Linked DNA regions of Homo sapiens: all the other regions are linked to region 7. The links are contacts of gene promoters, found by promoter capture Hi-C in blood cells and fetal thymus (Javierre and others, 2016). All regions are on one chromosome and are shown on one strand. Each heading gives the region's core, a stretch centred on a gene start or on the middle of the fragment in contact. The rest is flanking DNA. Distances are from core to core; before and after follow the strand shown. Region 1 has its middle 51 kb from the start of APOL3. Region 2 has its middle 51 kb from the start of RBFOX2. Region 3 overlaps RBFOX2 (RNA binding fox-1 homolog 2). Region 4 overlaps RBFOX2 (RNA binding fox-1 homolog 2). Region 5 overlaps LINC01399 (long intergenic non-protein coding RNA 1399). Region 6 overlaps APOL3 (apolipoprotein L3). Region 7 holds the start of APOL6 (apolipoprotein L6).

Region 1 (3,805 bases), core at 935-3,434, 460 kb after region 7:
CTCTGCAGTGACAAAACATCCTGTTTCTATTAATATACATATAGAGACCAATGGTATTCTTGGCTAGCGTTTACAGGGGAAGGATTTCCTCCCCCACCCAATCAAGCCCAAGCACTACTGCCCATGCAGTGCCCACCCCCCTCCAAACCATGCAGGTTTGGGATGAGACTGGGCGAGAGAGGAACGAGAGAGGGAAGGAGCAGGAAAGCAAGACAGGAGACTGGAGAATGCACTTCCCATGACACAAGGGTGCCTCCCATTCCATTTCATGAGATACTTTTTTTTTTTTTTTTGAGATGGAGACTCGCTCTGTCACTCAGGTTGGAGTGCAGTGGCATAATCTCAGCTCACTGCCACCTCCACCTCCCGGGTTCAAGTGATTTTCCTGCCTCAGCTTCCTGAGTAGCTGGGATTACAGGCACCCACCACCATGCCCGGCTAATTTTTATATTTTTAGTAGAGATGGGTTTTTGCCATGTTGGCCAGGCTGGTCTTGAACTCCTTACCTCAGGTGATCTGCACACCTCAGCCTTCCAAAGTGCTGGGATTACAGGAGTGAGCCACCGCGCCCGGCTTCATGAGATACTTTTGAGATGCTGTGCATCTTTATTTTTTATTTTTTATTTTTTTTTGAGATGGAGTCTCACTCTGTTACCCAGGCTGGAGTGCAGTGGTGCAGTCTCAGCTCACTGCAACCTCTGCCTCCCAGGTTAAAGCGATTCTCCTGCCTTAGTCTCCCGAGTAGCTGGGACTACAGGTGCATGCCACCACGCCGGCAAATTTTTTGTATTTTTAGTAGAGACAGGGTTTCACCATGTTAGCCAGGATGGTCTTGATCTCATGACCTCATGATCTGCCTGCCTCAGCCTCCCAAAGTGCTGGGATTACAGGCGTGAGCCACCATGCTCAGCCGAGATGCTGTACATCTTTAAGTTACCTAATAGGTAGGGTAGGCAGGGAGGGGAGGAGGGGGCGCTGTGGTAGAGACCAAGGCAAGGGCCCCCTGACGTCTCGGCTCACAGTGCAAGAGGCTTGTATTTTCAGGCATGTTGCTGCAAAAACACATGGTGGCCCATGTAGCCCCAACAGCCAGAAAGCAAGTACCCAGATGACACTTCAGCCTTTTACTCCCCTCTCGGGTGTGGGGCAAAGACCTTGTAAAGCAGCAGTCCCCAACGTTTTTGGCACCAGGGACCAGTTTTGTGGAAGTCAATTTTCCATGGACCGGAGATGGGGGGATGGTTTCAGGATGATTTAAGCACGTTACATTTATTGGAGACTTTATTTCTATTATTATTACATTGTAATACATCATGAAATAATTATACAACTCACCATAAAGTAGAATCAGTGGGAGCCCTGAGCTGGTTTTCCTGCAACTAGAGGGTCCCATCTGGGAGTGATGGGAGACAGTGACAGATCATCAGGCACTAGATTCTCATAAGGAGCCCACAACCTAGATCCCTCTCATGCTCAGTTCACAGTAGGGTTTGTGCTCCTAGGAGAATCTAATGCTGCCGCTGATCTAACCGGAGCTGGAGCTCAAGCAGTCATGTGAGTGATGGGGAGCGGCTGTCAATACAGAAGAAGCTTCACTTGCTCGCTTGCCCACTGCTCGTGTCCTCCTGTGCAGCCTGGTTCTTTTTTTTTTTTTTTTTTTTTTTTGAGATGGAGTCTCGCTCTGTCGCCCAGGCTGGAGTGCAGTGGAGTGATCTCGGCTCACTGCAAGCTCCACCTCCTGGGTTCACACCATTCACCTGTCTCAGCCTCCCGAGTAGCTGGGACTACAGGTGCCTGCCACCACGCCTGGCTAATTTTTTTTGTATTTTTAGTAGAGATGGGGTTTCACCGTGTTAGCCAGGATGGTCTTGATCTCCTGACCTCATGATCCGCCCGCCTCGGCCTCCCAAAGTGTTGGGATTACAGGCGTGAGCCACCGCGCCTGGCCGCAGCCTGGTTCTTAACAGGCCTCAGACTAGAACTGGTCCATGGACTGGGGGTGATGGATCCCTGCTCTACAGGACAGTCACAGAGAGGACCAGTCCCCTGGGGGCCAAGTGGCCACCACAGCTGCCCACTTCCCTGCCCCACGTCCCTTCTGATCATTCTGAAAGGTTCCTTCAGCCAGTGTTTTCTTTTTATTTTTGAGATGGAGTCTCACTCTGTCACTCAGGCTGGAGTGCAATAGCGCGATCTTGGCTCACTGCAACCTCTGCCTCCTGGTTGCAAGCAATTCTCCTGCCTCAGCCTCCCGAGTAGCTGGGACTACAGGCACGAGCCACCACACCCGGCTGATTTTTGTATTTTTAGTAGAGATGGGGTTTCACCATATTGGTCAGGCTGGTCTTGAACTCCTGACTTCGTGATCTTCCTGCCTCAACCTCCCAAAGTGTTGGGATTACAGGCGTGAGCCACCACACCCGGCCTCAGTCAGTGTTTTCTGAGTATCCAGTTCTCACCTGGCCCTGGGGAAGCAAAGAGGAATATGGCTTTGTCTTCATTCTTTGACAAAAGGGCCAGACATGCAATCCATACCTCCAGTCCAGGCAAAGACAGGAAGGGAGGAAGCAGGGACTCACAGGGTCCTGTCGTCGGGGCACAGGGAGGGATGTGGTGCTATGGGACAGAATCGTGGCTCCCTAGCTATGTGACCCTTGGCACATGATTGGACTTCTTTAGGTCTCCCTTGTTAGTAACTGGGGAGCTTTAATAAGAGTCATTGTGCAGGGTGGCTGGGAGGGCAGGGCAGCTGTTTACTAGCCCGTGGCGGCAGGGAGCAGAAGCTTGGGACGAGGAGCCTGGGACTGCGACGGGCAGAGACGGGGGTTGGGACCCTGGAGGAGGAAGGGGGGAAGGGTTAAATGAACAGAAGGCCACCCTCTCTTATTCCTCCCCCAGTGGCTGGGGGCCAGAGAAAAGAGATTTGGACAGGAGGGAGGGAGGACAGGCCCAGCGGGAGGCAGATTGGGGTCGGGGCCACGTGTGTTGGCCGGCAGCCTGTGGACCTTCTTTGGGTCCAAACTGCCCTCCCACCTCTGCCCAGGCAGGCAGCTTCCTGCCAGGCTGGGAAATTGCTTTGGCCTGGAATTTTCTGCTTGGGGGTGTGTTTTTGGAGCCAGGTTCGCTGTTAGGAATCTCCAGTTACCAACATTCCTGAAACAGACCCAAAGGAGGCCGACCCCAGTTTTGCAGACTCCGGTGGGAAGTGGGAGGCAGAGGCGGGGCTGGAGGTGATGGCTGTGCTAGACACCTCTAACCAGCTCTGGGGTCGCCAAGCCAGGGCCACTGTCTTTCTTCTCACTGGGCATGCTTTGAAGACAACCTTTTTTTTTTTTTTGAGACGAAATCTAGCTGTGTCACCCAGTCTGGAGTGCAGTGGTACCATCCTGTCTCACTGCAGCCTCTGCCTCCCAGGTTCAAACGATTCTCCTGCCTCAGCCTCCTGAGTAGCTGGGATTACAGGCACGTGCCACCATGGCTAATTTTTTGTATTTTTAGTAGAGATGGGGTTTCACTGTGTTAGCCAGGATGGTCTCAATCTCCTGACCTCGTGATCTGCCCGCCTTGGCCTGCCAAAGTGCTGGGATTACAGGCATGAGCCACCGCGCCCGGTCTAATTTTTGTATTTTTAGTAGAGATGGGGTTTCACCATATTGGCCAGGCTGGTCTTGAACTCCTGACCTCAAATGATCTGCCCGCCTGGGCCTCCCAAAGTGTTAAGATTACATGTGTGAGCCACCTTGCCCGGCTGGAAGACAACTTTGATAAAAGGAGCTTATAGGTGAATACTCAGCCCAGAAGTGTG
Region 2 (3,620 bases), core at 861-3,360, 430 kb after region 7:
GTTAGGAGGGAGAGGCTAGGCGCGGTGGCTCATGCCTGTAATCCCAGCACTTTGGGAGGCTGAGGCAGGCAGATCATGAGGTCAGGAGTTAGAGACCAGCCTGGCCAACATAGTGAAACCCTGTCTCTACTAAAAGTACAAAAAATTAGCTGGGCGTGGTGGCGGGCACCTGTAATCCCAGCTACTCAGGAGGCTGAGGCAGGAAAATTGCTTGAACCCAGGATGTGGAGATTGCAGTGAGCCGAGATCGCACCATTGCACTCCAGCTTGGGCGATAGGAGTGAGACTCCATCTCAAAAAAAAAAAAAAAAGAAAAAAGAAGTTAGGAGGGAGCATTAACAATAAAAGAACTATGACTGGACACAGTGGCTCATGCCTGTAATCCCAGCACTTTGGGAGGCCAAGGTGGGTGGATCACTTGAGGTCAGGAGTTTGAGACCAGCCTGGCCAACATTGTGAAACCTTGTCTCTACTAAAAATACAAAAATTATCCGGGTGTGGTGGTGCGTTCCTGTAATTCCAGCTACTTGGGAGGCTGAGGCACGAGAATCACTGCCAGGAGGTGGAGGTTGCAGTAAGCCAAGATCCAGCCAATGCACTTCAGCCTGGGCGACAGAGCAAGACTCTGTCTCAAAAAAACAAAACAAAACAAAACAAAAATGAGCATTATTATCCTTACAGATAATAATTTGAGCTAAGAGAGATTAATTGACTAGCCCAAGGGCATACAGCTAGTTGTGGTCTGGCTTGAATTTGAACACAGTTCTGCCTACCTTCAAATTTAGCACTCGTCCTAAAATTCTATAGTCAATTCTTATTTTCAGAAGTAATTTTTCTCCTCATAATTTTCCCTAATTCTTTGGTCCTCCAAGGCCTTTCAAGCCAGTTCCCAGCTCCTGATAATAGTGAATACCTGAAACAGCTAGCTTATTATTCTCCCGTGGGTGTTTTAATTTTCAAAATGTGGAAAGACCAAGGCATGAAGCTTTGAAGGAGAAATTTCATCCACTGGCTGTGGACATGAGGAACTTGGAGTTCCTGGGATCTCAACCCCAGTACCTACACTTATGGGAAACCATCACCCTCTCGGGAAGGCTTCCCTTGTCTAGAAACTTTTTTTGAGGAAATCCAAGAATGTCTTAATAGTAGAGGATGCAGTATGAACACGCCTTTGGAACTCTATCTGACTCACAGGATCCCACAATTTTAGTACAGCCTCTTCCAAGCTGAACCTCTCACCAAACCAGGTTAGGAATTGCGGGTTAGTTATTTGGAAGGAAAGGTGGTAGAGAAGGACCAGGGGAATTAATATTCATTGAACATATGACAGCGATGGCAAATAGAGTTTCTCTGCATCATGCATTGATAAGCACACAGAGTTAGCATCCATGCTCAATTGGTAATGTCTGCCCTTGGTGCAGGACAGCATCCAAGCTCACCTGGTAATGTCTGCCCTGGGTGCAGGAGGGGGCCTGGCAGGATGGTTGCCAGCTCTCCATCTTCTCTGGCTATGAGCCAGGCACTTTACACCATTAACCCCAAGTTCTCACAATAACCTCTGAGGTGGGAGTTTCTTTTCTTATTTTCTGGAGGAGGAAACTGAGGTTTAAAGAGGATGTTACTTGCCCCTTGTAAAAGGTACTAGGTGGACAAGTCTTTAATTTAAAAATAAATAAATAAGCAACATATCACTGCCACAAAAGCAGCAATATTGCTACAATTTACTGAGGGCTTTCTACATGCAAGACACTATTTTTTTGTTGTTTTGTTTTTTTTTTGAGATGGAGTCTCACTCTGTCACCAGGCTGGAGTGCAGTGGCGCGATCTTGGCTCACCGCTTCCCAGATTCAAGGGATTCTCCTGCCTCAGCCTCCCGAGTAGCTGGGACTACAGGCGTGTGCCACCATGCCCAACTAATTTTTGTATTTTTAGTAGAGACGGGGTTTCACCATGTTAGCTAGGATGGTCTCGATCTCTTGACCTCGTGATCCGCCCGCCTCGGCCTCCCAAAGTGCTGGGATTACAGTCATGAGCCACCGCGCCCAGCCTTTTTTAAAAAAATTTTATTTTACTTTAAGTTCTGGGATACATGTGCAGAACCTGCAGGTTTGTTACAGAGGTAAACACATGTGTCATGGTGGTTTGCTGCACCTGTCAACCCGTCACCTAGGCATTAAGCCCCACACACATTTGCTATTTTTCCTGATGCTCTCCCTTCCCTCACCCCACCGACAGGCCCTGGTGTGTATTGTTCCCTGCCCTGTGTCCATGTGTTTTTATTGCTCTGCTCCCACTTATGAGTGAGAACATGCGGTGTTTGGTTTTCTGTTCCTGTGTTAGTTTGCTGAGGATGATGGCTTCCAGCTTCATCCATGTCCCTGCAAAGGACATGATCTCATTCCTTTTTATGGCTTCATAGTATTCCATGTTGTATACGTAGCACATTTTCTTTACCCAGTCTACCACTGATGGGCATTTAGGTTGATTTCATGTCTTTGCTATTGTGAATAGTGCTGCAATAAACATATGTGTGCATATATCTTTATAACAGAATGATTTATATCCCTTTAGGTATATACCCAGTAATGAGATTGCTGGGTCAGGTGGAATTTCTGGTTCTAGATCCTTGAGGAATCACCACACTGTCTTCCACAATAGTTGAGAAATAATGTACATTCCCACCAACAGTGTAAAAGCATTTCTATTTCTCCACAGCCTTGCCAGCATCTGTTGTTTCTTGACTTTCTAATAATCACCATTCTCATTGGTGTGAGATGGTGTCTCACTGTGGTTTTGATTTGCATTTCTCTAATGATCAGTGATATTCAGCTTTTCTTCTTTTCTTTCTTTCTGTTTTTTTTTTTTTTTTAAATGGAGTCTTGCTCTTGTTACCCAGGCTGGAGTGCAATGGGGAGATTTCGGCTCACTGCAACCTCTGCCTCCTGGGTTCAAGTGATTCTCCTGCCTCAGTCTCCCGAATAGTTGGGATTACGGGTGCCTGCCACCATGCCCAAGCTAATTTTTTGTAGTTTTAGTAGAGACAGTGTTTCACCATGTTGACCAGGCTGGTCTCAAACTCCTGACCTCAGGTGATCCACCCGCCTCAGCCTCCCAAACTGCTGGGATTACAGGCATGAGCCACCGTGCCTGGCCCCACTTTTTTTCATGTTTCTTGGCCGCATAAATAAGACCCTGTATTAAGCCTGTTGTATGTATTATCTCCATTCATTTCCCAGAAGCTTGGTGAAGTAATTTACCATTTTACAGACCACGCGGAAACAGAAGAGCCAAGTGTCGTGTTCAATGTCACTGGTGCATCAGAAGCAGAGCTGGGGTGAAAGCCAGATGCAGCCAGCTCTAGGGCCTGGACTTCTGTTCCTTCCCACTGGTTTGTTTTCATCCTGAGTCATTGCTTGGTAGGGGAGGATTCTGAGAAAGCAATGAGGTAAACTATGGCAATACTGACTTACGCACTTCACATAAATCCCTTTGTGAGGAACATGTCATGGGGCTCCACACATTGGGCTATGAAGAGCGGGGTTGGCCTGTCCCTTTGTGGCAGCGGCCCCTCTTAGGCCTCTTCAGCACTCTGTCCCTGGGGGCCAGCCCATCCAGCCCTG
Region 3 (3,924 bases), core at 882-3,381, 360 kb after region 7:
TAGGAAAAGAACAGATATTGGAGGTGGTGGTCAAAGTGGTCACTGGCCTTATACGTTTGAGTTTTTGGCTTTTTGGTAAGAATATACTTGCATATTAATTAATTCACAGTTAAAAATAAACTTTAATCAGAACAAGGATAACTAAGGGGGAAAAAACAAAAATAAACTTTAAGAAAGAGGTGACATCTAATTAATTTGATACTCCTAATGACTATCTAGCATGGTGCCTTGGCACATAAATGGAGCTCCATAAATGGTCACTAAGTGGAAGAATAAATGGATGTGCAGAGTTCTACAAAGCAGAGTAGAAGGGGAGAGAAACAGTCACATTCAACAACTGTTGCCTTTACTCAACAACTGTTCTTTTAAAGTTAATGCAGGGTTCTCAACCTCAGCATTACTGACATTTTGGGCCAGATAATTCTTCATTGTGGGAGACTCTCTTGTGCACTTTAGGATGTTAAAGTAACATCTCTGGCTTCCAACCCCTAGATGCCAGTAAGACCTCCACAATTATAAAACTCAAAAATGTCTCCAGACGTTGCCAATGTCAACTGAGGGGACAAAATCACCCCCAGTTGAGAGTCACTGAGTTAACCCACTTATACATCATTCTTTCCACTTCCCCAACCTCCATGACTTTCTCCCAATTTGCCCAGAGTTTCAATGCTTAGGCCTAGATCGTTTCAACATTCAAGTTGACAACACTTTCAAAACTGAGACTCCAAGTTCTTCAACCTACTTATTTCCAGGGGGCACTACCTACACCAAACTCATCCATTGGATCCTTACACATCATTGCTACCCAAAACTCTTCTAACGTCAAGATCTCAAACTCGTAGGAAAAGCTCCTGCTGTCCTTTGTTTTCTCCCACGCCCTTATTCTACCTGAACCCATTCATCTCAGTTTATTGACACTTGGCACTAGGTAACGTGCACTCAGCTACACTCATGGGCTTCCAAGTACTGTCTGATAGTTAAGAAACAGCTGGGCGAGGTGGTTCACGCCTATAACCCCAGCACTTTGGGAGGCCGAGGTGGGTAGATCACCTGAGGTCAGGAGTTTGAGATCAGCCTGGCCAACACAGTGAAACCCCATCTCTACTAAAAACATAAAAATTGGCCAGGCATGGTGGCAAGTGCCTGTAATCCCAGCTACTTGGGAGGCTGAGGCAGGAGAATCATTTGAACCCAGGTGGTGGAGGTTGCAGTGAGCCAAGATCACACCATTGTACTCCAGCCTGGGCGACAAGAGTGAAACTCTGTCTCAAAAAAAAAAAAGTTAAACCATCAGGACCAACTCAATCCCAGCTGGCACTTACTGAGACTGAGCAACCCTTTCATCCCACTTCTTGATGAATCCTTATTACATAGGAACAGCAGCTACTTCTAAAACTTCTCACTCTCCTCGAAGTGTCAACACCACCACCTCTGCCTGCAGACTCCCATTCTCTGAGGAAAGGTTGAGTTCCTCTAACATAAGCTCATTCAACTTCCCTTCTCATAACCTCATACACATTAGATGCTCAATAAATACGTGTTAAATTTAGGAAGAAAACGCATCCTGGCTTAATACTGGCTGTATTCAAAAGAATGATGTTTACGGGGAAAAACAGCTCTCTCTGAATTTTACTCTAATTCAAGATTTTATTCTACAATACTAAGCAACCTTAAGGAAAGTCAACATGCCTCCCTAGTTTCTCAAGGCTACCACCACCAATCAGTGGCATACACTGCTGCTGCAAAGGAATCCTCTGGATAATCGTGAAAGCACACTAAGAGTCTAGAAGGAAGCATAAAATATAAACTCCAATGATAAATGACCATACTGCAAAAACGTGCTGCCCATAAATGTGAACGATTCTTAATTCTGCAATTCAGTGAGATGCAAAGAAGTGTCTAAACAAAATGACAGAACACTGACGGCAATGCCACATGCTAAATACCCATCACTTGGCACTTTGTGAGGACTGACAAATATTCTGAGGGCAAAAATTGCTCTGCAACAGAAGATAAAAGCTTTAAATAATTAATTGGCATAGGCAATTGTATAACAGCTTCAGAATGAAGTGTCCCATTTTCACCTAACCCTAGTGCCTTCCACAGGTACTAGTTCGTCGTCAGAAGAGATAGGCAGCACATGTGTTCCACTGAAAAAATCTCTAGGTCCCCACTGAATCTAAGGCATACCACTTTCACCAGCTTTTGTCTCATGTGGTCATTACAGAATAAGAGGTTTGGCAAAAGCTTTAGCAAAGTAGAGCCAATCGTTTCTCATAACGTGTTCTAAACTTTTTTCTTGACCTTTAGCTTATGGTAGCTTAGACAAGTATCTTAAAAGCATTTCTAGTCAGCCATTTTTGGTAACTTGTGAGCAAAATTATTTTTAGCTGAAAAAGTTTATTTCAATCCCTCTCTCATAACTCAGAAGCATCTGACCAGGTTTAGTTCAAGCTTTCCAGAATAATTTGTCTTTGAGTGGATTCAAAGCATAAAACATTTCAGCTACAAAAGAGAAATTCTCTCCTTAATTAACAGAACGAGCAATCAAAATGTGCAAATATATAGGGTATGTGAATAAAATATCACCTGCCTACCTACTGCCAGCCCTGGTATACTGTAGAAATTAAGCACTTAAATGTTGATAAAAATTTTTGAAAGCCTCTAATGGACAAAACAACATTGTTACAGCATTCCATGCTATGAAGAGCAAAATGCATGCCTGCATGGTAGAAAGTGCTTCATGTAAATTCAAATATAATCAAACAGAACATAAGATTCAAGTTGTGTCCATGCGGCACTCAACCTGTGGTTCCAAATAGAGGGAAAGTTTCTTGAAGGATGCAGACAGATGAGAAAAAGAAAATAAGATAGTCTGCTGGAAGTCAGTACAACTACATATGTACAACATAACCAAATACAGATTTTCTTTGTTCTTTTTTGCTTTCTCTTTTTTTCCTTAATGAACAAAGACTATATTCCTCCATCTACCCTTATAAGGATATGTTTCTGAAGTGGTAGGAGAATCTAATCACCAGTGCCCAGCCAGCTTGGTGAACAATGGTCCTACATGATTGCAAGAGAACAGCAGTGTGCGGATGAACTAACTACCAACGACACTTTGGGCAAATCCCTTGCTCGCATGCCCTCCACCCCAACCTCACTGACTCACTTGCAGTTCCTCTCATACCTTGCCCTTGTACATACTGTTTCTTTTGTCTAGAATGACCTGCCCTGCTTATCCACTCAATACGCAGCAACAGCTTCTGCAGAATGTTCTCCAAATGCCCATCCCACCCCAGCCAGATAAGAATCCCTCAATTCCTCCATTATGCTCCCATAGAAGCACTACTCATCCTGGCTTGGTACAGACACTCCTCTATCCACCACCAAGTTAGGTTCTGTAATGAAAGGCTGCTCCTAAGTCCATTTGTTCATAAAATTCCAAGGTGAAAAAAATCCAAGTAACCCATGGGTGCATGTCTAGCTAGGGGACATTTCTTAAGAACAAGGGAGAGGCTTATGGTAGTGATTCTCACTCATTTTGCTTCTTCTCAATCCACTTTATGATTTGCACTTGACCCTTTATAATTGTATTGTTGAATGATTCATCTTGTATACACATTCACCATTTCTAATGTACTTTCCATTTTTAATCATCTCTTATCTACCCCTCCATATCAGCACTTTCAGTAAATAAAAAATGTAAGAAAACATAGCTAATATACAAACATATAAATATATATAATATAAATACATAATAAGTAAATATAAGTACTGGAATATCCTACATAGAATAAACAATGTCATACACAAAATCAAAATGACAAAATGACCATGCGCCACCACACAAGTACTATTTTTTATTTGTGGTAAGCAGAATTGGCATACTTTTTCTCCAACACACAACTTGACTCATTTCTA
Region 4 (3,538 bases), core at 98-2,597, 330 kb after region 7:
CGCTATGGTTTGCCTTTACTTGTACAGGGAATGTTGGGCCTTTACTCCACCACAAATTCATTATGACCTATTAAAAGATAACATTTGAGATGTATAAAAAAAATAGACCAAAGGCCACAACGGAATATACTTAGGTCATGTAGGTAAAAGATCCTATGTGATCAACACACACACATCTCTCCAAGGCTTGAACACCCATAAATAGGAAAAAGAATGGGGGGAATCTATATGAGTATATTTGGGGATCTCCAACTATTCCTTCCCTTAGGTTTTCATCCTCAGAGATGTTCCATGTTTTGTTTAAAGAGATCATTTTCTAAGAAGTAGTGGTTGTGGTGAGATTAGAACTATTTGGCCCAATTACTAAACTGGATAATTGCCAAAAGTTCTACCCTGGTTTTCTAATGGTTTTCTACTCAAAGCAAAGGAGTAACTCTTGTGTATGAAAGAGAACAGAAGTTAAATATCTACCAAAGCACAAAGCATCAGGTTTACTTTCAAAGCCAAATTTATCCCCAAAGTAACCAGGCTTTACCATCAATTAGGTGAAAATTAAGCGGTTTTCTTCTGGTTATAAATCAATTGGGGCGGGGGTGGGGGGTGCTATGTCTCTTGGTATTGCCCTGAGTTTTGCAAGCAGCTTGCATACAGACCATACACCATTTACAAGACAAAAAAGAGGAAGACCCAATAGTAAATATGACAATCTCTGCCCTCAGAGAACTTACAGTTTAGCAGGTGGGACAGACAAATTAAAAGAAAGGACATCTTCCAGACTGGAATGGGATCGGGCTCAGGAAAGGCTTCCTTGAAAACAAAATACCATTTGGCTGAGATCTAAGGAGCAACCTGACTTTGCACGCTTATGTATTTATGTTATGTGTTTTACTTTATGGAGAATTTTCTGAGTAGAGAGGTAAAAAGAGATACAAGAAAAATGGTAAAAAAGCACAGAGGAGAAAAAGATAGCAAGTGATTCCATTCTGTTGGGACATAAATACTAAGAAAGAAGCCTTTGAAAGGCTTTTAGTAGTGGAATAATAAATTTTTAATCACCAAAACAACGTTATGGTAGTAATTATTATCTTCATTTTACTAATGAAAAAACTGAGGCTTGAGAAAAGTTAGGTAGATTGAGCAAGGTCCCACAACAAAAAATATGCAGAGCAACTGTAAAGCCCATCCTCTTTCTGTTCTATTTCCCTCAGAGTTATACACAGAATGTAGCCAGTTCCTTGGATTTCACAGACAAATCACCTTTTCCCTAGATACTCAGCCCTTGGTATTTAATGCTTTCAAAAATCCAAACATTCAGCCAGGCGTGGTGGCTCACACCAGTAATCCCAGCACTTTGGGAGGAAAGGTGGGCAGATCACTTGAGGCCAGGAGTTCGAGACCAGCCTGGCCAACATGGTAAATCCTTATCTCTACTAAAAATACAAAAATTAGCCAGGTGTGGTGGTGCCCGCCTGTGGTCACAGCTACTCAGGAGGCTGAGGCATAAGAATCCCTTGAACCTAGGAGTCTGAGATTGCAGTAAGCCAAGATCATGCCACTGCACTTCAGCCTGGGTGACAGAGCAAGACTCCATTTCAAAAAAAAAAAAAAAATTAGAATTAAAAATTTAAAAATATAAGCATTCACCAAAGTTAATTTTAGCTTCATTTGGAGGTCAATCCCTTAGGAAAATTGAATATAACCATTTTTATGGTTTTACTGGTTTTCACCAATGTGAATTTGCACACACAAAATTAGTCATTTTCCCCTTATGTTTGAGGCCCCAAAAGATCAAGGCAGCAGTAAGAAGACAGCCCACACAGAATTCACTGTATACCCTGTAACGCACAACACATCAGCATCTATTTTATCCAGCAGCAGGAAGACTTATAAGTCAGGACCCCACAATTATCCCTGTAGAGAGGCACACCAAAGGGAATGTAGGCATAACAGCTACAATAATGGTAACACAAATAGCCATCTGTACTTACAGCCAATCATGCCAAGGGCTTTTAAACACCCACATCCCTACTGCCTCCCTCTCTCTCCATGCAGGTGGGCAAATTCCTTTCCATTCTTCTCCAACCCACATAATTCCAGGGGAATAGATAATCTGATGCTAGGAGCAAGAAGCAAAGAAAGCTGCTATACTTTTGAACACAAAAGACCGAAAAGGAAGAGTCCTAATTCCCCCACCCTGTGTTCTACCCATTAAACCAGTATTTCTCTATTCTTTCTACTGTTTAAAACACAGAAGGATAGCTCCTGTTACATCCCCCAGGTCCCTTTCCCTGACTTCCACCGGTCCCAGCTAGTTTAGACCCTCCTCCCCCCATCTCCCCATTTACTCAATTCTCTTAATGCACTTACCACATTATAGGTCTTGTTGGTACCAGTCTCCCTACTACACTGGGAGCCCCTGAGGTCATGGACTGTCTCTCTCTCTCTGCCTCCCTCCACATCCTCAACAGCCAGCATGGTACAGGGCATACGGGCGCTAAATAAACATTTGCTGGGGTGATTACAAGAACTGCAGAATGAACAGGGAAGTGGGTAGGAGAAAAGGAAATGGTTGGACGGTAATTTGAGGTCTGAGGGTCCAGGATATCTGAATAGAAACCATGCTACAGTCCCTACAATGGAACATGTTGAGTGCAACAGTTATATAAGAAAAATCATTCTTTAATAGTCTCTGATAGAGTGTTTTAGAACAAAAGCTGTTTTAACTCTAACAAGCTAAGGGTATCGTTTAAAAAAAAAAAAAACCACTAATCCTATTTATTAGTGTTATGTCCCAAAAGCAAAACAGCAACAAGAGAGTGTGGCCTACAAAACTACCACAGCCCTACCATTGAGCTCCAGCTCCCAAACACAAATAGCTTTTCAGGACTCCTCTTTCTTTGACAGCTGTTTCACCCACCCTCTCCCCTTAGCCTCTTCCCTTCCTCCCCTACAAGGCAGCAAAGCAAACAATGACTGCACTACAAAATCCAAGAATCATCAGAAAAACAAATCTCCCCAGTTCTCCTAAGTTTATCCTGAGGGCTGCTGGCAAGATAAGCAATTTTTTCCTCATTATGGTAGACTTCACCTGGGTGATGAATGTAGCTATCAACTTTTCAACAAGGTGCTGGAAATAGTAGATCTCAAAACCATACCTTAGTAGTGCACCTGCCCAATCTGCCCTCAGCTCTGCAACCAGGAGGCTTTTACCAGCTCTACTTTAGCTCTAATCCACCAGCTACTACCCGCCCCCTACCAGGGGCATCTGCTCTTGAACCTTCCTTATTAACTATAGTTGTCAAAATCAAACAGAACCTGATAGAAAAGTAAGACAGGAAAGGGATATAGTAAGTTTCTAAGATTGTCTCAGTTTAGACCCCTTGGCCATTTTTTTACCTGGATTTTTTTTTCTATTGAAGAAAACTATAATAATTACTTTTAGGAGATGCTGATTCTTATTAGATTTTACTTTGAATCACTGTGGTAAGATGTTAGAGCTAAAAGCAATCTCAGAAATAACATCATATCACCACATTTT
Region 5 (3,685 bases), core at 666-3,165, 420 kb before region 7:
ACCCCCTGCCCCTGCACACTCACTCGAGCCCCTCCCCAGTAAAAAAGACAAAGGCTCTCAATTAGGAGTTATGGCCTGGAATGAGGAAGTGACGCCTGGAGAAGCAGCAACTACCCTGTGACCACAAGAACCAGTGCCAACACTGAGGATACTGGAGTAGAAACAGGAGGAGGCACCAGGGTCCCTGATGACATTTTTGGGCATTTGTTCCAGTTCTGGACTGCCTGCCCCAGACTTCCTTTTGCATGTAATAATACACCCTTCACCTTTGTAAGCAATGGAGCTGTTTTCTGTTACTCAATGTCAGGCCTCTGGGCCCAAGACTGCACATACATATCCAGATGGCCTGAAGTAACTGAAGAATGACAAAAGAAGTGAAAATGGCCTATACCTGCCTTAACTGATGACATTACCTTGTGAAATTCCTTCTCCTGGCTCATCCTGGCTCAAAAGCTCCCCCACTGAGCACCTTGTGACCCCCACCCCTGCCAGACAGAGAACAACCCCCTTTGACTGTAATTTTCCACTACCTACTCCACTCCTATAAAACGGCCCCACCCCTATCTCCCTTTGCTGACTCTCTTTTCGGACTCAGCCCACCTGCACCCAGGTGATTAAAAAGCTTTATTGCTCACACAAAGCCTGTTTGGTGGTCTCTTCACAGGGACACACATGAAACTCAATCCTGACCAATATGAGGCATGAGAGCCTGGCCTAGAGAAGTTGTGGAGGACAGCGGAGAGGAAGTACTTAATACTTAGGAGGTGGTAGAATTGACAACACTTTATGCCTAACCAGACATGAGGGGAGGAGGAAGTCAGGGAGGAAAGAATGTCTTCCCCAACATAAGGAATACAGCAGGAGAAACAGGTTTCAGTGGTAAAATCAGAGGTGCATCATCATCATGTCAATAAGCTGCTTCAGACCGTATTGTTTTCCCCCGAATTCTTATATTGAAGCCTTAACTCCCAGTGAGACTGTATTTGGGGCTAGGGCCTTTGGGAGATAATTAGGCTTAATGAGGTCATGAGGGTGGGGTCCTCGTGATGGGATTAGTGCCCTTATAAGAAGAGAAACAGACATCAGCGCTCTCCCTCTGTCTTGTGAGGACACAGTGAGAAGGCAGCTTTCTGCAAGCCTGGAAAAGGGTCCTCACCAGACCCTACCACACTGCACCCTGATCTCAGACTTCCAGCCTCCAGAACTGTGAGAAATCAATGTCTGTTATTTAAGCCACACTGTCTATGATATTTCATTAGGGCAGCCTGAGCAGACTAATATGTAAATGCTGTGCATTGTGCTAAGAAAACAGGTTTTCCCTGTTGTCCCAAAATTCTGCATAAACCCCCAAACTAGGGACAATGGGCATGAAATCCTCTCACATTCTAAAAAGCACAGTGACATAGCCATGCAAGATGAGCCAAGAAAGGACAGAAGTACCTCTGCCCCACAGCCATCACCCCTTCCCAAGCCCCTCCAACCTTTATCAGCAAAAGACCTGGAGGAATTCCAGAGGACTCACTAGACAAGGGAGTATTTGAAATATGGGGAGAGCGCTGTGTCTTTTCGTTTCCTGCTGTACGGCCCTGGCTCCCACCCAAGCCAACTTCAAGAAAGTCATTTGCAAAGATTAGGGCTATGGCATCGTTTGGGTTCCCCAGAAGGAGACCTTGAGGCAAGAATCCAAGGACACGTGACTAACTTGAGAGATTATCCAAGGAAACTCCAGGAGGGGAATAAGAAAGAGCTGGAGAAAGAACGGCAGTGAAAAGGGTGTGGTTATTGAGAAGTGACCACTGTGGATGAGAGGGAATTCATCCTGCTGTGAAACACTGGGAGCTAGTGAGGAAGACGACTTTCAGAGTCATCCCACCAGGGGGCAAGGGACCTGGGCATTTATTAATACACGCCAACACTCACCAGTCATCATGGAGGGCTGCTGCTGTGGTGTTAATTTCCTGGTACTTAGGCCCACTACTCTGGCCCGGGGCCTGGCCACTGTAGAACGCCCTCAGGCAAAGAGATACAGGGGCTGCCCTGGAGGTTAGCCAGTGAGCACTTTAGCAGAGACAAGGAATGTAGGTAGGAGACATTGCCCACATCCCAGCATCTGCTAGGGGCTGCCTGAAAGAAAAGGACCCTAGATCTGTGTTTCTGCAGCAGACTCTCTGATCTGCCCCTTAAGTCTAACAGAACAGGGGAGAAAAGACCTGGAGCGAGGCACAGGGTAGGGGGTGGAGGTGCAGCAGCAGGCACTCCCACTATAGCATGGCAAAGATGCGTGAGTCTCCCACAGGCGGAGAGAACACCACTGAAGGACCAAGACTTGAGCAATTTCCACGTCCAAAGATCCTAATCATTACCCAAGGAGACTTGAGTGGCAAGAAGCTGTGGGCTCCCCCTGGCAACGATGGGGGCTAATGGGGTGGTCAGGGCTCCCACAAGAGCTCTTCACGAGGACCTCTGAAGAACCCACACAGGCACCCTGAGAAACAGCTAGCATCCTGCCCATTGCTCCCAACCTTTCCCATCCCTCTCCCGGCGCAGGTCTCTGGGGCTGGGTCAAGCCTGAGCGGGAGGGTGGGAAAGAGGAGCATTAAATGAAAAACCAGATTGAAGTACTTAGCTGCAAATGACCAAAAATCTCAAGGATCTGCCTACGATATTGTAAGAAAGATAAGAGTAGAGCAGAATATGCCCCCACCTGGTTCAGACAGTTCAATACATCCTTGATAACAACCAGCTATTGAGTACCAGACACACAGCGAGGTGTTCCTCAGGGCTGAGCTCATCTAATCCTCTCAGCAACCTTAGGGGAAGGTGTTACTGTCCCTACTGTACAGCTGAGAAGTGTGAGGCTTAGAGAAGCTACACAGTTTGCTCAGGATCATACAGGCAACGCATAGCAGAGTCTAAATTCAAACTCGGACCATTTTCATTCTGGTGCCTTGTTCATCAACTGGTAGGTAAATTATGGTATACCCATACAATAGAATACTAGTCAGTAACAAGAAGAAATGAATGACAGATGCATGACGGAACCTGGATGAATCACAAAAACGTTATGCTGAATGAAAGCAGGCAGACACAGAAGACTACTTTCTGTAGGATTCCATGTATATGAAATTCTAGAAAAGGCAAAGCACAGTGCCAGGGAACAGATCAGTAGTTGCCAGAAGCCAAAGACTGGAGAAGAAATGGGGCATGGGAAGCTTTCTGGGGTGGTAAAAATGTTCTATACCATGGCCAGATTCTGTGGCTCATGCATGTAATCCCAGCACCTAAAGGTGTTAGCAGAGCCAAGGAGGCTCTAGCCATGTGAGGGCATGGGCTGGAGAGGAGGACAGAACTAGAGAAATAAAATGAAATGACAGGTGGTAGAGTTGAGAAAGGGATGGACAGGGAGCAAATCCTAGAGTAAACATCTGACTGAAAAGAGACTTAGAGATGAACTCTAATCCAATGCCTGCCCCCACCTTTAAAGTTGGGGAACTGAGACCCAAAGAGAAGATTAAAGCAGCGGCAGTGGTGCTGGGGGGGCTGTTTACCTCTGTATTGGTCCATTTCACACGACTCTAAATAACTGCCTGAGACTGGGTAATTTATAAAGAAAAGAGATTTAATTGACTCACAGTTCCACGTGGCTGGGGAGGCCTCAGTAAACTTACCATCATGGCAGAACGGG
Region 6 (3,396 bases), core at 363-2,862, 490 kb after region 7:
GGAAGAGGCAAGTGCATTTGCCTTTTTCCTTGGGATGGCTGGGTTCATAGCAGATAAGGAGAGTTCTTTTTGTTTGTATGAGAAGAAGAGTGTGTGTGCAGTAGCAAGCGATTGACTGTATACAATGAGCACAAATTCAGGTGGCTGTTTGGCCAGAGGCTTCCCATTAGGGTTTGTGTCTCTGTTACCCATCCCCATTCCTGATACCATAGCCTCACTGATTAGTTCAAGAAGAGTCACTAACCCAAGCTATTCTGTCTACTGAGTATGTGAAACTTTAATCAGAGACACTAGGAATCAAAGTGTGTGGAGCTAAGCCAGGTGCAGGCAGAGCCCTGAAAGGGCAAACCATATATTCCTGATGTTGGTAATGGTCTGCTCCTGTCCTTCCAAATTCTGTAGATTTTGTTCTTCCTTCCATCCTCTGACCTGCTCTAGTTTTCATCCAATGAATCTTCTATTTTGTTTAAGACAGATAGTTTCTGTTTCTGTTGCTTGCAATTGAAAAATTTTTAAACAATACTAGCAGTACAGTGGAATTGCATCAAATGCAGGTAGCCTGATGGCATTTCAACTCTAAGTGTCAGGGCAAATGCTGGCTGGATCACTGAAGAAGTAAATTACTCAGTGCCAGAAACATTCAAAGCTTAAGTGAAATGTATGAAAAGAATGGGAATTATCCAGGAATTGATGAACAATTGACAGACAAATGAAACACAATGTTCTGGCGTTAGGCAAGTCGGTGGCCGTTGCTCTGTTGACTTCTTCAGGAAGAAATAGATGAATCAACTGAAGGTCAGGGAAGCCTTGGCTGATGGAGAGTTACAGGGACTGAGGCAAGTGTTCTGCAGGATGCTACATAAAAAAGGACTAAGTAGGCCCTGGGTGCACTTTACGAGTGACTTAGGAGAGGTTCTGGGGTGATTTTGTGCATTCTGTATCTCTTGCCCCTGCTCTGGGCTCCAGCTGAGGCGCCCAGCAGTTCTATATTCTATGCATGGAAATACAGATAATTAATGTCCACTGGGGCAAGGCCATGGGGGACAGGAGCAGTGGTTACAGGCCTCCCTCTCTCCTCCCTGTAGAGGAACATTCTGAAGACGCTCCTTGAAGACTCCTCAGGAGGTCTCCAGTCGCCCACATGGGTGACCCTATCAAGAATTTCTCCCGGCATCAGCCTTCTGTCCTTCTCTGTGTCACTCCTCCCAGTACCCCAGTCCTGCTCCTAGAATCACTTCCCAAACAAATCCTCTGCCTGGGAGCCTTGCCTAGGGCTCTCCCTTCAGGGGAACTCAGGCCACAGCAGCCTACATTAGACAGCATGAAGGCTCTGGGCTTTTGTGCTAAGAGTAATAGGAAGCCATTGAAGACATGGAAGCATGGGCTTGAAGAAATCTATGTTCTTACGGGGCAAATTGGCCCAGTGTGGAGGATGGGCAGGGATAGTGGCAAGGGCTGTATAACAGGGAAGACCATTCTGGAAGCTTTTGCAGGAGTCTGGGTGAAATGAGAGGGCTGACTGGATGAGGGTGTTTGCAGACTGGATGAGGGTGTTTGCAGACTGGATGAGGGTGTTTGCTGTCTGGCTATCTCTCTCTGTTCCTCTATTTCTCATGGACTTTCTCTCAACCTACACACAGGCCCCTCTGATTTTAGTCAGCCTTGTGTGACCCATGTCATTCGTGGGCCCTGGCTGCTAGATGGGGACCATGCCTGCACTTGGGCCAAGCCAGATGTCTACAAGCTTTCCCTGAGTGCCTCACAGGCCACTGGGCACTGGGGTCGCCCAGAAATGACCGACCAGAAGAACAAGCAGAAGGGGCCATGGAGGCCTAGCTCCCTGAGTCCCTGGAAGAAGGATCATGAGGAAGTGAAGTCAGGCACCGAGAGCCCAGGGGAGCCCATCCATCAGCACCACAAAGGCACAGGCATAGATCAGTGTTGCTTGAACCCAGATCTCCAGAACACAAGAGGAGAGAGCCAGGTGGACCTGAGATATCATCTTGTCCAGCCCCTCTTTCCCAGCTGATGAGGAAACTGAGGCTCAGAGAGGCGGGGTCTCTTGACTGCAGGCTGGTTCATCTCCTCAATGCACCACAAAGTTCCTTGATTGGTTCCTGGCATCTGGTTTTGCTTTTCTCTTCCTTGTTTTTTTTTGGGGGGGGGACGCGGGGGATGGAGTCTCGCTCTGTCTCCCAGACTGGAGTGCATTGGCGCCATCTCGGCTCACTGCAACCTCCTCCTCTTGAGTTCAAGCAATCCGCCTGCCTCAGCCTCCTTAGTAGCTAAGATTACAGGCACCCACCACCATGCCCAGCTAATTTTTGTATTTTTAGTAGAGAAGGGGTTTCACTGTGTTGTCCTGGCTGGTCTCCAACTACTGACCTCAGGTGATCCACCCGCCTCGGCCTCCCAAAGTGCCAGGATTACAGGCCTGAGCCACCGTGCCCAGCCTCCTTTTATTTTTCTTCACAAATCAATGACTTTTCCAATACAGAATTTGGAGTTTCATTGGAATGTCATCGTTCCCTCAGTGTATCCTGGCCCCAAGCAGGGCTGACATTTGTCAAGTCCTCCTGCTGTCTGCTGACATCATCACCATCACCTTTACCACTGTTCAGACAAAAACTTCAGACAGGAACTTGCTCCCAAAGCGAGAAAGGAGCCAGGAGACCAAGGAATGACTCGAATAAGTCCAGCTTGGTGAGTAGGTGAGTTTATTAGGACTTACACACAGGGCACTCAGCAGGATGGCTCTAGAGATCCGGCCTCCCCCAGTCTCTAAACTGCTTTTCAGTTAATTTTCTGTCTCTTTGCCTGCTGTATATGAGTAATGAGACTGTTTTTCTTGGTAGGTTCTCGCATACTCTCCAGGATGTTTGGGTTTTTAGAGACACCTGGTCCTCAGCTGGGGACAATGGCCATGGCTCATTACCTGGCCTTCAGGGTTCAAGCAGGGGACATATACCCCTAAATAACCTAAAGGGGATCCATCACACTACAACCACCACCTCCACCGCCATCATCAAGAAGCCACTGGCTGACTGAGATACACTTCCAGGAGGACAAGACAGAGTGGATGCTGGAAAGACAGGGCAGGGGACCATCACCAGGGAAAGACTTCATTCTTGGAAGGACATCGAACCGGGGGCAGGTCGGTAGTGGAGCCGCTGTTTCTTCTGCTGTATCCAAAAGTTCTAACTCTTCGGCTTTCTGCATTTTCAGCTCTTTCTTTTCCTGGCCTTCTCATTGCTGGTTCCTGCACACCTCCCCTCTATTCCTCCCCCCAATATATTCGTTAGTCTAAAGGAAATTTCTTCTTCCTATTCCCCACACTCTCCAGTCCCCTCTCCTCCCTTATTCCAGGCTCCAGCATTCCTGCCTTCTCCTTGGTGC
Region 7 (3,671 bases), core at 236-2,735:
AGGCTGTGTTTAGCGTGTTCCCCAAGTGTGGGAGGCCAGGAGCAGGGGTGGGTTGTGGAATCCGGGATGCCACGGTTGGAAAGGCCCCTACAAGACCCAACTCAGCAGCCCTTAACCCCTCATTCCTGCTCGTAGGGCCCAGGGACAGGAGGTGGCCTCTATCACAGCAAAGCCAGGACTGGCTAGGTGGGCCGCACCTTCTGCAAAGCAACAGCCTCCAATGTGGTCTCAGCTAGGGGTGGTGACTGGGGACTTCTGGGCATATAAATACAAACAAACCACATGGCTTCTGATCACAATTTGACACAAATGCTAGAGAGACACAGATCTCAGCCCGTAACCTCACTGTGGGCTCATTCTTGTAGACACAGAGCCTAGGACTGGTTCTTAGCTGTGTAATCACAAACAACCCACAACTTCTAGAAGCCTGGGTTTCCTCTTCCTTAAAGTGGGAGACAGAGTATCACAATCCTATATCTCCAATCCTTGAGGCCAGATGCATGTCAGAGTTCCTGATTTGGGGGATTTTTAGAAAGGTAATGGGGTGCAGGTATCGTGTACTATGTAACCCACGCACCCGCAGCAGCCCTCCTCAGTCAAACATATTAATATTTCTGCAGTGACTGTAAATATTCAAATTAAGCAGGAGACATAAAAACCACAGGTGAATTCATGCCAGATCAGGTCAGGTTTTGCCACTAAATGAATAAATTATCATTTTTTTTTAAGTTTTCATTCTGAGGCCAGGTGCGGTGGCTCACGCCTGTAATCCCAGCACTTTGGGAGGCCTAGATGGATGGATCATTTGAGGTCAGCAGTTTGAGACCAGCCTGGCCAACATGGCAAAACCCCATCTCTACTAAAAATACAAAAATCAGCCGGGCGTGGTGGCAGGTGCCTGTAATCTCAGCTACTAGGGAGGCTGAGACAGGGGAATAGCTTGAACGTAGGAGGCGGAGGTTGCAGTGAGCCGAGATCGTGCCATTGCACTCCAGCCTGGGCAACAGAGCGAGACTTCATCTCAAAAAACAATAATAATAATAATAATAAAATAAAGTTTCCATTTTCAGAGGATTCTGCATTCAGAGTTATTAGCCCTTTAATGCTGTGCACCTCATAGGGTTGTTACCCACATCAGCGTCACGTAAGATGCTGTGGAGGAAAGCAGTTTCAGAACAATCAGTGATGACAGCTACTGTGAATCCACTATTCAACAGGCGCCCCATCGCTTGCTCATGGGCTCCTCACCATAGCTCTAAGCCACAGGAGCTATTTTCATACCCCATATAGGTCCATCCTATAACACAGCCAGGACAGAGACGAGAGACTCAGGCCTCCTGACTTGGATTCTGCTCTTTCACCTCCTTGTTCATCCAATTAGAGAAACTGGCAAAAAGGAAACTGAAAGTGACAGCTGGAGCCCATGATTTCCTGGAAGAGCCCTAGAGCTTTGCTTTTTCTCTCCTGCAGCACTTAACCGAAACCAGTTTTGCAATCAATTCCTGTTCAAAGGCCACCCTACTCTTCCTATCCGTCTTTCTCCAGCCCAGACACTCACAGCCCCCTGCCAGACCAGGGGACCTCGGAGAGGCAAGGACAGAGGTTCAGGATCTTCCTCTCCCTCGGGACCCAAGGCCACAAAGGAGAGCTCCGTGGAGAGAAGGTGAGACGGCGGGCAGAAGTCGGGGGAGGAGGGGGCTGCCGCTCTGGTCCCTGAAGGACAGAGCCCCCAAGGGGTTGGCTTTAGGCACCTGACTCAGGGAAAAGAGCTGCTGTGAAAGCAGCGGGGTTCAAATGCCAGCCAGAGCTTGAGGAGAGTCTGAGGATTAACTTCTCCTGTGTTAATCCTGGTAGGTTTCCCTCCCTTACAGCCATTTCAGGGTTAAATTGAAACATGCTAAAGCATGCGATGTGACTAGCCAAGTTGCATTTGTCCCTCCACTGCTGGGGATCCGAGGGCTTAGGCAGAGGGGACCTGGCCCTTAGAAAGCAGATGATTACATCAGCCACAGGCGTTTCCCTAGAAATTCAGTAGAGGAGTGGTTTAGGGGTGTCATCTCACAAGAAAAAAGGTGCTGGGTGAGTTGTCTAGAAACTGCAAAGCCAACCTACAGAGTTTTCTAGATTGTAGATTTATGTGAAGTTGTTTGGGGAAGAGGGTGAGGGAGTTTGTGATAAATATTAGGGCGACTAGGCCAGGCGCAGTGGCTCATGCCTGTAATCCCAGCATTTTGGGAGGCTAAGGCAAGCGGATTGCTTGAGCCCAAGAGTTTGAGACCAGCATGGGCAACATAGTGAGACCCCGTCTCTACAAAAAATCAAAAAATAGCTGGGCGTGATGGTGCACACCTGTAGTCCCAGCTACTTGGGAGGGTGCTGAGGTGGAAGGATCACTTGAACCCAGGAAGTCAAGAATGCAGTGAGCAGTGATCGCACCACTGCACTCCAGCCTGGGCAACAGAGTGAGACCCGGTCTCAAAAAAAAAAAAAAAAATCTAGGGAGGTTATCTTGAAGCTGTGTTTTCAAAGTAAGCAGATTTTTCTTACTTAGATTGTGTATCTGCAGAAGTTGGTTTTGTGGGGGAAGGCAGGTAAGGAAAGACTGTCATAAATATCCTGTAAGCTTTCAAATGAAAGTAAGTTCTCAAATCCTCTTCCAATAAACCTCTCACAAGCAAATCCTCTCGCAACCACCAAGAGCAGGTCAGAGGGGATGGAATGGGACCTGCTTAGATGAGTTTCCTGCTGTTACCTTTGCCCTGCATCCCATAGGACTAATGTAAAAAAATGAGAGAGGTATTGGCGGACGCTGGTAAAAAATGGGGTTCCAGACCAGAGTCTCTTACCCCCAGCAACCTTGTCATGTTCAACCAGGTGATCCCTGGTTGTGGGGGCTGTCCTCTGCATCGTAGGGTGCTTGGCAGCATCCCTGGCCTCTGCCCTCTACATACCAACAGCAGTACCCTCTCCAGCTGAGACCATCAAAAATGTTTCCAGATATTAGCAGTGTCCCTGAGGAGCAAACACGCCCTGTTTGGGACCAACTACTCCAGACTCTGCGTGGCTGGAATTGCACAGGCTTTCCTGCTTACTGTGTGACACTGGCCTCCCTATGTCTCAGTTTGCACCTCTGTAAAATGGGCATCATCTTAGCACCGATCTCACTGGGTCACTGTGTAAAGCAGGTAGATGTATGTCTGGTGAAAGTAAACTCTTAAAGGTGCCAAGCCCCCTAAACCAAACCTAGCTTCACATACCAAAGAGGGGAGAAGGTTTTTATCTTTGAAGCATTCATTCTTTTTCATAGACTACCCCAAAGAAATAACCAAACATGTAGACAGACGTCTATATAAGGATTTTAACCAAAAATTATAAATACAAAATTTTAAAATAACTGAAAACAACCCAAAGGTTCAACAGTGAGAGAGTTATTGAATGTGTAATGATACATTCGTAAAATGAAATGCGACATGGCTTCTATGTATCGCCTGGGGAACTACTAAGATACAATGTTAGGTGACAAGAATTCACACAAACTACATGAACAGCATGCATTTCCATATGGTGAGCGTAAGGTGGATTTTATAATTTATTTCTAAATTTTCAACCTTAAACTTGTATTCATGGCTATAAGTGAATGAATGAATGAATGGCTATAAATGAATGGCTAT

The links. The method cuts DNA at HindIII sites, captures the fragments that hold promoters and counts their contacts. A CHiCAGO score of 5 or more calls a contact.
Region 1: a contact is called between a fragment that was not itself captured here and the fragment with the promoter of APOL6 in region 7, in 2 of 17 cell types (endothelial precursors and M0 macrophages). The highest score is 6.5, in endothelial precursors.
Region 2: a contact is called between a fragment that was not itself captured here and the fragment with the promoter of APOL6 in region 7, in 2 of 17 cell types (M0 macrophages and endothelial precursors). The highest score is 7.7, in M0 macrophages.
Region 3: a fragment that was not itself captured here is called in contact with the fragment with the promoter of APOL6 in region 7 in 2 of 17 cell types (endothelial precursors and M1 macrophages); the score reaches 5.2 in endothelial precursors.
Region 4: a fragment that was not itself captured here is called in contact with the fragment with the promoter of APOL6 in region 7 in 3 of 17 cell types (M1 macrophages, M2 macrophages and fetal thymus); the score reaches 6.1 in M1 macrophages.
Region 5: a contact is called between a fragment that was not itself captured here and the fragment with the promoter of APOL6 in region 7, in 1 of 17 cell types (neutrophils). The highest score is 5.3, in neutrophils.
Region 6: a contact is called between a fragment that was not itself captured here and the fragment with the promoter of APOL6 in region 7, in 3 of 17 cell types (M0 macrophages, M1 macrophages and endothelial precursors). The highest score is 9.5, in M0 macrophages.

What each region holds. Positions count from the first base shown.
Region 1 is chr22:36,107,605-36,111,409 of GRCh38, forward strand. No RefSeq gene overlaps it. Among named protein-coding and RNA genes, the nearest start is that of APOL3, 51 kb to the right of the region's middle. The HindIII fragment of the contact is 1,193 bases long and covers 1,589-2,781 here.
Region 2 is chr22:36,077,794-36,081,413 of GRCh38, forward strand. No RefSeq gene overlaps it. Among named protein-coding and RNA genes, the nearest start is that of RBFOX2, 51 kb to the left of the region's middle. The HindIII fragment of the contact is 2,254 bases long and covers 984-3,237 here.
Region 3 is chr22:36,003,528-36,007,451 of GRCh38, forward strand. The region is part of intron 1 of RBFOX2 (RNA binding fox-1 homolog 2); the gene reads right to left. Among named protein-coding and RNA genes, the nearest start is that of RBFOX2, 23 kb to the right of the region's middle. The HindIII fragment of the contact is 228 bases long and covers 2,018-2,245 here.
Region 4 is chr22:35,980,048-35,983,585 of GRCh38, forward strand. The region is part of intron 1 of RBFOX2 (RNA binding fox-1 homolog 2); the gene reads right to left. Among named protein-coding and RNA genes, the nearest start is that of RBFOX2, 47 kb to the right of the region's middle. The HindIII fragment of the contact is 5,413 bases long and covers 1-3,538 here.
Region 5 is chr22:35,227,330-35,231,014 of GRCh38, forward strand. LINC01399 (long intergenic non-protein coding RNA 1399) reads right to left here. Exons shown (of 6, transcript NR_126356.1): 1 at 3,669-3,685. Among named protein-coding and RNA genes, the nearest start is that of LINC01399, 1.9 kb to the right of the region's middle. The HindIII fragment of the contact is 2,590 bases long and covers 621-3,210 here.
Region 6 is chr22:36,137,629-36,141,024 of GRCh38, forward strand. APOL3 (apolipoprotein L3) reads right to left here. Exons shown (of 4, transcript NM_145639.2): 4 at 2,701-3,396. Among named protein-coding and RNA genes, the nearest start is that of APOL3, 21 kb to the right of the region's middle. RefSeq lists an enhancer at 3,325-3,396. The HindIII fragment of the contact is 260 bases long and covers 1,483-1,742 here.
Region 7 is chr22:35,646,961-35,650,631 of GRCh38, forward strand. It overlaps APOL6 (apolipoprotein L6), which reads left to right and starts at 1,486. Exons shown (of 3, transcript NM_030641.4): 1 at 1,486-1,663. RefSeq lists an enhancer at 1,191-1,490. The HindIII fragment of the contact is 8,876 bases long and covers 1-2,621 here.